2 separate regions of the Homo sapiens genome follow, and region 1 is linked to region 2. The links are contacts of gene promoters, found by promoter capture Hi-C in blood cells and fetal thymus (Javierre and others, 2016). All regions are on one chromosome and are shown on one strand. Each heading gives the region's core, a stretch centred on a gene start or on the middle of the fragment in contact. The rest is flanking DNA. Distances are from core to core; before and after follow the strand shown. Region 1 overlaps MRPS27 (mitochondrial ribosomal protein S27). Region 2 holds the start of TAF9 (TATA-box binding protein associated factor 9).

Region 1 (5,302 bases), core at 1-2,500, 2.9 Mb after region 2:
ACGGTGGAACTGGCAGCGGCCCTGGCTGGCTGCTGAGAGCGCGGAACGGGGCGGCGTTCTGACGTTCGCGCCGGGGCCCTCTGGACGCACCGCGGGCGCAGGTCCTAGACAGCTGCATTGGCGTCCACCGCGGCCCCGGCGCTGGGAAACTGCCCTCACGCTAGGGCCCTCCCCGAGGAGCTCTCTGGCACAATCAGCCACGAGGACGAAGAGAGGGGGCACCGGAACCGCAAGCCCACTCCGAGAGGCCAGAACCTCTCTCTCGCCGTACTCCCCGGCAGGGCACGGCTCAGGGGAGACGGCGCTCTGGCACATGAAGCCCACACCCACACGCCGCAGTGTCCCTTGCTGCCTCGATCTCCAATGGGGATGGGAGCGGCGAAAGCCTCATATCGGCCCTCCTCCGTCCCCCAATCAGCGAGCCCGCTTTGAGCACCTCACGGCCCTCCGGCTGGCGGCGCCCAATCACAGCGCTCCACATGCTGGGCGCGGCCCTGCGCGCGCACGCTACCCGACAGCCCCGCGCCCACTCGCCGCGTTCCACCCGCGGGGCGGCGGATTCCCGCAGGGGCCACACTGCCACCTACTGTCCCATCTCCAGAGCTGGAGCCACGGGCGCTCTCCCTACCATGCGGCCTCCCTGCTAAGTGCCAGTAGCTCAACCCAAACGCTCAAATAAAAATGAGGGAAAACAAGTAGTGTCGTCGAGTAAAACCGAAAACAATGTCCATTTTGAAAAAAGCGGCAATAATTACCTTCCAGTACACAGTAGGAAAAAGTCTCAAAAGCTTTCTTTGTTCCAAGCAGTGTGAGTTCCAAAACATTATTTCACCTCACACGTTTTATAGAGGGCTAAAAACAAGGGGCTTAGGGACTCCTCAGTGCACATATTTCTGAAGCACCTGCATGTCAGACGGAGAGGCAGGCATTACCATCATCTCTAATTTATAGGCACAGAAACCGAGTGTGACAGCTGAAAGCCGCAGAACTGGGACTGACACCCAGAAGTCGGCCTCCCAAGTGCAGACTTCAGCACATCATACACAAGGAAGGCACAAAGTGCTGAAAGAATATAGGGCAGGAAACATCGATTCTGACTGGAGAGATTCAGGATATACAAAGATATTCTAGGCAGAGGGGACAGCTGTCTCGGTGGCAGGAAAAATTCAGTAAATGGTGGCTAGTACTGCTTTTCCAAGAAAACTAGTCTTAACTGAGGAAAGGGAACAAATGTCTCTATGTGATATTTACTCATTGCAGACTTTTTTTTTTTTGAGACAGAGTCAGCTCTGTCGCCCAGGCTGTAGTGCAGCGGCGTGATCTCTGGCTCACTGCAACCTCTGCCTCCCGGGTTCGAGCGATTCTCCTGCTTCAGCCTCCATTGTAGCTGGGATTACAGGTGTGCGCCACCACGCCCGGCTATTTTGTAATTTTAGTAGAGGCGGGGTTTCACCATGTTGTCCAGGCTGGTCTTGAACTCCTGACTTGATCTGCCTACCTCAGCCTCCCAAAGTGCTGGGATTATAGGCGTGTGCCACTGCGTGCTGCCCCGCTGCAGATTATTATACTCATTATTTGGCAAACAGTTACTGCTTACTCAGGTATCCATGACAATGTTCCCTGGATTTGTGTGACTGACTATACCCAACACCAAGACACCAAACCTAGTGGCCTCATTTCCTAATCTTCCCTACATACCTAGGAAAGTGTTAATAAGCTTTCCTGGAATTCGTCATTCCCTTATCTGTACTTCACTGCACTTTGCTTATAATTCACATATGGCACATCCGAACACGCCTTGCTGTATAACTATGAGTCCATACTGGTCTGATCACTAGAACAGTATAGTATTGGCCCTACAGAGCATTTTAGGATATGTGGAAGTTGGTCTTGATTGTCACAATGACTGAAAGGCATTACTGGCACTTAATGGACAGAAAACAGGGAATTCAGATGACCTGCAATGCTGAGACTGTCCCGTACATCAAAACACTGTCTCTAGTGGGAGCCAGGGCTGTCAGTATGGAAGACGGGAGATACAAATATGGACTGGAGCAAGGCAAGAAGAATCCCATAGGGATGAACTTGGGATTGGTGTGAACTCATTATCTGCAAAATATATATAGTATATGTATATGCATATGTGTACATGTATGTTTATGTGTATGTGCATTCATTTTTTTTCCAGAACTGTTCACTGAATGGGCCAAGAAGCAAAAATTTCACAGTAGCAAAAGGACACCTAGCACCTAGATCTTGGTTTCTAATGCCATTCCTCACCAAAAGTAACCAGAGCTCCTTGGAGAAATGGTTGATTCCAGGGCTAGGCCAGGAAGGGTACACAGTGAGCCTGAAACACCTTGTTATATGAGAGAAAGTAAGTTATCAAAAAAGAGGGGGGTGGGGGAAAATGGAAGCCAGCTTGAAAGGGCTTCTATCAGCCAAGTCTGGGATATTTAGACCACCAAAATAATTGAGAAGGGTAATGAATCATTTAAAAAATTCACAAATTGATGATTTAAACATAATGCATGATAATAAACAGATAAATGAGAAAGAAATGAGAGAAAAGGAAGAGTTCTTGCTTATAGTAGAATACTGAGTGTTAGCTAGTAAATCTGGAGAAATTTTCAGAGTTGGAAAATCATTACTTTGCAACCATTATAGTAAAGATTGATTCAGGCTAAAGCCATGAATGGATGCCAAATCTAAGAGCAAACTTTTGATAAACAACATATTTGCATTACATTAAAGTCTCTCTCCGAGAATAGCCTATTAATCAGAAGGGAGAAAAACAGTAACTCTGCAGTGGAGAAATCAGACACAGTTGACTAGGTGATCAAAACTGACATCACCAGTGAAGGCATATGATATCAGGTATGTCCACATGTGATACCCTGGCAGGGGCACAACATCACTGAGAGTATTCTGGCTGGGGAAGCATAACAATGAGAAAATAGCAGAAAAATCCAAGAAAGAGGAATATTCTATTTAAAAAAAGAGATTGGGTTCTTTAAAAATATATAGGACAATGTCATAAGAAACAAAGAAAGGATAAGGAACTATGATTCTAGACAGCATCCTGTACTGGAAGAGGAAAAATGCTATGAGAGACCCTATTATTGGGTCAATTCCCAAAACTGGGATATGAATAGTAAAGTATTATATTAATGTCAAAATTTCCGAAGTTGGTAACTGTGCTATGATTATACAATAGAATGTCCTTATCTCAGGTAATGTACATTGAAGTATTCAGGATAAAGAGCTATAATATATGAAACAAACTCCCAAATGATTAAAGAAAGTGTGTATACAGGGGGAAGGAGGAGAGAGAAAGCAAAAACAAATGAATCAAAATGGTAACGACAGGTGAACATGAGTAAAAGTAGCGCTGTGGTTTAAATATTTGTCTCCTCTGAAACTCATGTTGAAATTTAATCCCCAGTGTAACAGTTTTGAGAGGCCAGTGGATCATAAGGGCTCTCCTCTGATGAATGAATTAATCCATTCATGGACTAATGGGTTAATGGATTGATGGGTTATCACGGAAGTGGGACTGGTGGCTTCATAAGAGGAAGAGAGACCTGAGCTAGCATGCTCAGCCCCCTCGCCATGTGATGCTCTGAGCCACCTCAGGACTCTGAATAGTCCTCACCAGCAGGAAGGCTCTCACCAGATGCCACCCCTCAACGCTGGCCTTCTCAGACTCTCTAACTGTAAGAAATAAATTCGTTTTCTTGATAAATGATCCAGTTTCAGGTATTGTTATAAACAACAGAAAACAAACTAAGACAGATATAGAGGAGTTCTTTGCAGTTTTTATAAGTTTAAAATTATTTCCCGCTGGGCGCGGTGGCTCAAGCCTGTAATCCCAGCACTTTGGGAGGCTGAGGTGGGCAGATCACCTGACACCAGGAGTTCAAGACCAGCCTGGCCAATAGGCAAAACCCTGTCTCTATTAAAAATGCAAACATTAGCTGGGCGTGGTGGCGTGCGGCTGTAACCCCAGCTACTCAGGAGGTGGAGGCAGGAGAATCGCTTGAACCCAGGAGGCGGAGGTTGCAGTGAGCCGAGATGACGCCACTGCATTCCAGCCTGGGCGATAGATAGTACAGACTCTGTCTCAACAACAATGACAATAACAACAACAAAATTATTTCCAAATTAAAAGATTAAAAAAATTTGCCATGTCATTTGTGACATAATTATACCATCAAAAACAACCTGTTTATCATTAATGGAACTAACTCCATTTTTCATATAAGCAAAGTTTTTTTAATGGAAAATAAGGTGAATTTTGCAACTCTATATTGAGGGAAGACATACCTTTGAATCAATCAGAACTTTACCAAGAGTTGTTCATTCTATAAATAAAATTATGTCATTATGATAGCGCCACTCCTGGTATTTGAATTTGCCAGTATACCGCATCTCTACCCATCTACACTTCTTCCATGTCTATAATTATTCCACATTTATATGCAATATTTACCTGCTTCATTGTTTCTTACTGTAGTTTTGCCTGGACATTTGTTTACAAATTGAAATACATATTGTTTAAGTTACTTCCCCTTTGTTTCTCCTCTGTATCGTGGCGAAGGAATCATACTGATTTTTTTTTTTTTTTTTGAGATGGAGTCTTGCTCTGTTGCCCAGGCTAGAGTGTAGTGGCAAGATCTCGGCTCACTGCAACCTCTGCCTCCCGGGTTCAAGCGATTCTCCTGCCTCAGCCTCCGGAGTAGCTGGGATTACAGATGCCTGCCACTGCGCCCGGCTAATTTTTGTATTTTTTAACAGACGGGGTTTCATCATCTTGGCCAGGTTGGTCTCAAACTCCTGACCTCATGATCCACCAGCCTCAGCCTCCCAAAGTGCTGGGATTACAGGTGTGAGCCACCACACCCAGCCATATACTGGTTTTTAAAACAGTAAGTATAGATAGATTATATTAACTATGAATTTAGTTTCAAGATGGCAAAAGAAGAGTATGATAAAGTACTTGTTATAAGAAGGCTACCCTGGGCCTCTTATAGACAGAATGAGACTGTAAGTTTCTCATGGAGAAGCTGCGATTACTTATCTTCAGATCTTCCACAGCTCTGCTTCAGCTGGCCTGTGCACATACACCCATCTCAGAGCTCACAGCCAACTCTGCTTGTGCAATCACATCATCAGTAAAGAAAAGGATGAGATCTTTGAAAATCCCAATAAGGTAGCCATTAGAGACAGCAATGTCTCCTGCACTTATGGGAAAAATCCATAAACACAGGGGACTTTATTCTTAACTGACATAAGCCCAAAA
Region 2 (3,626 bases), core at 1,127-3,626:
CCAGGGGTGGGGCTCAGCAGATTCTGACGCCAATTCAAACTGCCTGCTGCTACCGGGGAACTGCTGAGAATAAAATTAGCCATCTCGTGCTGGGCGCAGTGGCTCATGCCTGTAATCACCGCACTTTGGGAGGCCGAGGCGGGCAGATCACAAGGTCAGGAGATTGAGACAATCCTGGCCAACATAGTGAAACTACATCTCTATTAAAATACAAAAATTAGCCGGGCGTGGTGGCGCGTGCCTGTAATCCCAGCTACTCAGGAGGCTGAGGCAGGAGAATCCCTTGAACCAGGTAGTTGTAGGATGCAGTGAGCCAAGATCGCGCCACAGCACTCCAGCCTGGCGACAGAGACTCCATCTCAAAAAAAAAAAAAAAAAAATTAGCCACCTCGAATCAATTACAATAATTTATTTACCTTTTTCTTTTTTTAAAGACAAGATATCTCTTTGTTACCTAGGCTGGAGTGCAGTGGAACTTGGCTCACTAGAGCCTTTACCTCCTGGGCTCAAGCAATCCTCCCATCTCAGCCTGTCCGGTAGCTAGGACCACAGGTATGCACCACCATGCCCTGGTTAATTTTTGTAGAGACGGGGTTTGGCTATGTTGCTTAGGCTAAGCTCAAACTCCTGAGCTCAAGCGATCTCCCCACCTCCACCTCCCAAAGTGCTGGGATTTACAGGCATGAGCCACCCACCTGGCCTATTTGCTTTAACTTATAAAGATTTAAAAACTGTTCATGGCCACGTGTGGTGGCTCGCGCGTGTAATCCCAGCAATTTGGGAGGAGAAGGCGGGAGGATCGCTTAAGCGCAGGAGTTCGAGACCAGCCTGGCCAACATAATGAGACTCTGTCTCAAACAAAAACAAAAACAAGAACAAAAACAAAACTGTTCATGTTAAAATTAAGCAGTCTGAAAATTACCTCTACTGACCCCTTGCGCCCTTCCCTAGAGATAACCACTGTAAACCAGTTTCCTTTCCCAAAGAAACCCTATTTATGTTTGCATGTAAATGTACATATATGTACATACTCTTTGTTATATAAATACAACACATATTCCCTTTTACATAAATGACAATACTATATACATTGTTCTTTACCTTCCCCTTCTGATACCTATTAAAATTACATTTCAAGATCATCAAATTCATAATTTTCAGCTATTCAGATTTAACATCCCTGAAATTAAACTTAAGCATAAAGATAACAGGGATAATCCAGTTCCCATACCCAGGAGAATAACGGTCACCTCAAGTCCACTATAATACACCAAGTCTGAACCCTGGACTCAACATGTTTTCAATAAAATGTTCACTTTAAAGTTTTGACAATGACTTAATAACCAGGGCACTATGTTTGATCCATGCAAAAAGATGTAAAATCTTCCGCTTAAGGAATCTAAAATTCTAAACGTTATTTGTGGGGTGGTTAATCTGCACCTCTCAGAAACAGACATGTCTTGTGCGCTGCCAACAATTTTACCTTTGGGTGAATGATGTAACTTTACTGTTCCCACAAAGAGTCTTAATTTTTCTGTACCTTGCAATAAAATCTACATGCATTAGATTTTTCCACGAATGGCCTACAATTTGATAAACACTTTCAGGACTAAACGGCTAGCAAAAATATTCGTTAAAGTCGTTATGCAGCATTTTAATTCCCTTCACTGATAACATGCACCCTGAGTATGGCTTCAAAGACCCACTCCTACGCGAGAAACGACCCGAAATGCTCTATATGCCTTCCTTTTAAGGGGCGGGGGGATCCTTTGATGTAACTCAACAAAAGCATACAGCAATTTCGTCACGTCACAAACATCTGAACTCGTTTACCGAAATCTAATCTGAGGCGTTTATCAGAAGCAAAGAAAAAATAAAATACGGCCCACGGAGGCCTAAGGAGTGAGGCATCCACCATTAATGACTCTACCGGGAAGCAGATATGGCCTTACGTTATTTCGCTAAAAATCCCAAGGCCAACCCTGCCAAAGAATCAACAACCCATTTTACAAACGAAATACCAGATTCAGAAAGACTAAGCAGGTTGCCAAGCTGGAGAGCTGGATCTGCCGACCTCTCTCCACCCCCCCCCGCCCCCCCCCGGAGCCTCAGGCCAACGGAATTAACGTTCCGCGTCCCCTCCCTCGCCTCCCGCAACGCCCGCGAGGGTCGGCTCCCGGGGCGCTGACAACCGCCTCGTGGCCCTCGGCCGGCCTCTGAAGAGGGCAGTGAGGGGCCCCCACCTGGGCGCCCGATGCCCAGAGCACTCTGCGCCCCCAGCCTGCCCCAGCCCAGTCCCTCCCGGCCGCGCGCCCTGACCGGTGAGCAGGATGTTCGGAAGCAACATGGTCCCCGCCGCGACGGCTTCGGGCGCCTCGCTCACGTGCCCTTTGCTCTACAGGGAGGAGCCGGAAGGGGCGGGCGGCAGCAAAAGCCCACGGCCCCAAAGGCCCCGAAGCCCACCGCGGCGCCCCTAGCCTGCCCCGGCGGCCCAGCCGCGGCCCACTGGTTACCTGGCTTTCGATGACACATTTCCGTCGCAAAGTTGGAGGGTGGGCATAACTCGGGTCGGTACTTCGGGTCAGGCAGTGCGCTGGATGCCTAAGTCACACACTCCTTCGGTGGTCCCCGCCCTTCGCTTGCGCCGACCAGTCTGGAAGGTCCCCGGGAGGCCGTACCTCCGAGAGGCTCGGCGTTGAGCCCGGGTAGGGCCAGGTGGCTGCCCTTTCACCTAGGGTAGTCCCTGGTCGCCTCCGCTCTTCGCCTAAAAGGGGATGCAGCTCCGGGAAAGTAAGGCCGCCGCGGTTGCGGCTATATTATGTATATGTCTTAGAGACGTGAGTCTATCTCTGCCTTCAAGCTTTCCTGGGCTCTCGTCGCTCCTCCTCCCGACCCGCCCATCCCATCTGGGGATGAGAAGATTGAGGGTGCAGAGCCCTGTCCTGCAGCGGGGATTTGCGAGCTCAACCCGGCACCCCACTGATTACAGGATTACGTTGGACGAATATTTGAGCTTAGTATTCCCTGTTCACTGTGTGGGGTGGTGGTGGGTCGGCTAGGAATAGTCTTGAAGGTCTACCTCTGACATCTCATTTCAGTAACCTCGCATCTTCAGGGACAGTTATCTGCTTTTTAAAGGAGGTAATTGTCAATCTTGTTTTCAAGAGTGAATAGAGACCTGACCGTGACAACAGTCTGCACCTTTTTTTGTTTGTTTGTTTGTTTTTGTTTTGTTTTGAGACGGAGTCTCACTCTTGTCGCCCAGGCTGGAGTGCAACCTCCGCCTCCTGGGTTCAAGTGATTCTCCTGCCTTAGCCTCCAGAGTAGCTGGGATTACAGGCGCCCACCACCACGCCCGGCTAATTTTTGCATTTTTAATAGAGACGGGGTTTCACCATGTTTTGGCCAGGCTGGTCTCAAACTCCTGACCTCAGATGATCCGCCCGCCTCGTCCTCCCACGGTGCTGGGATTACAGGCATGAGCCACCGCGTCCGGCCCCTGGTCTGCATCTTTTATTTCGAGCTACAAACTATATTTACTCAAATAGGTGTTTTTTTTCCACCTGTATACCTTTTGAAACGTCACAGTCTCTAATCGTGAACGATTTGGGGCGGAGGGCTGAACA

What was found. The method cuts DNA at HindIII sites, captures the fragments that hold promoters and counts their contacts. A CHiCAGO score of 5 or more calls a contact.
Region 1: a contact is called between a fragment that was not itself captured here and the fragment with the promoter of TAF9 in region 2, in 7 of 17 cell types (naive CD8 T cells, total B cells, fetal thymus and 4 more). The highest score is 10.1, in naive CD8 T cells.

The regions. Positions count from the first base shown.
Region 1 is chr5:72,308,010-72,313,311 of GRCh38, forward strand. The region is part of intron 2 of MRPS27 (mitochondrial ribosomal protein S27); the gene reads right to left. Among named protein-coding and RNA genes, the nearest start is that of MRPS27, 9.6 kb to the right of the region's middle. RefSeq lists enhancers at 103-352, 3,998-4,498 and a silencer at 403-692. The HindIII fragment of the contact is 929 bases long and covers 787-1,715 here.
Region 2 is chr5:69,367,144-69,370,769 of GRCh38, forward strand. TAF9 (TATA-box binding protein associated factor 9) reads right to left here and starts at 2,377. Exons shown (of 3, transcript NM_003187.5): 1 at 2,320-2,377. It overlaps AK6 (adenylate kinase 6), which reads right to left and starts at 2,377. Exons shown (of 5, transcript NM_016283.5): 1 at 2,320-2,377. The coding sequence starts at 2,347. It overlaps RAD17 (RAD17 checkpoint clamp loader component), which reads left to right and starts at 2,675. Exons shown (of 19, transcript NM_133338.3): 1 at 2,675-2,790. RefSeq lists an enhancer at 2,929-3,478. The HindIII fragment of the contact is 4,867 bases long and covers 1-2,858 here.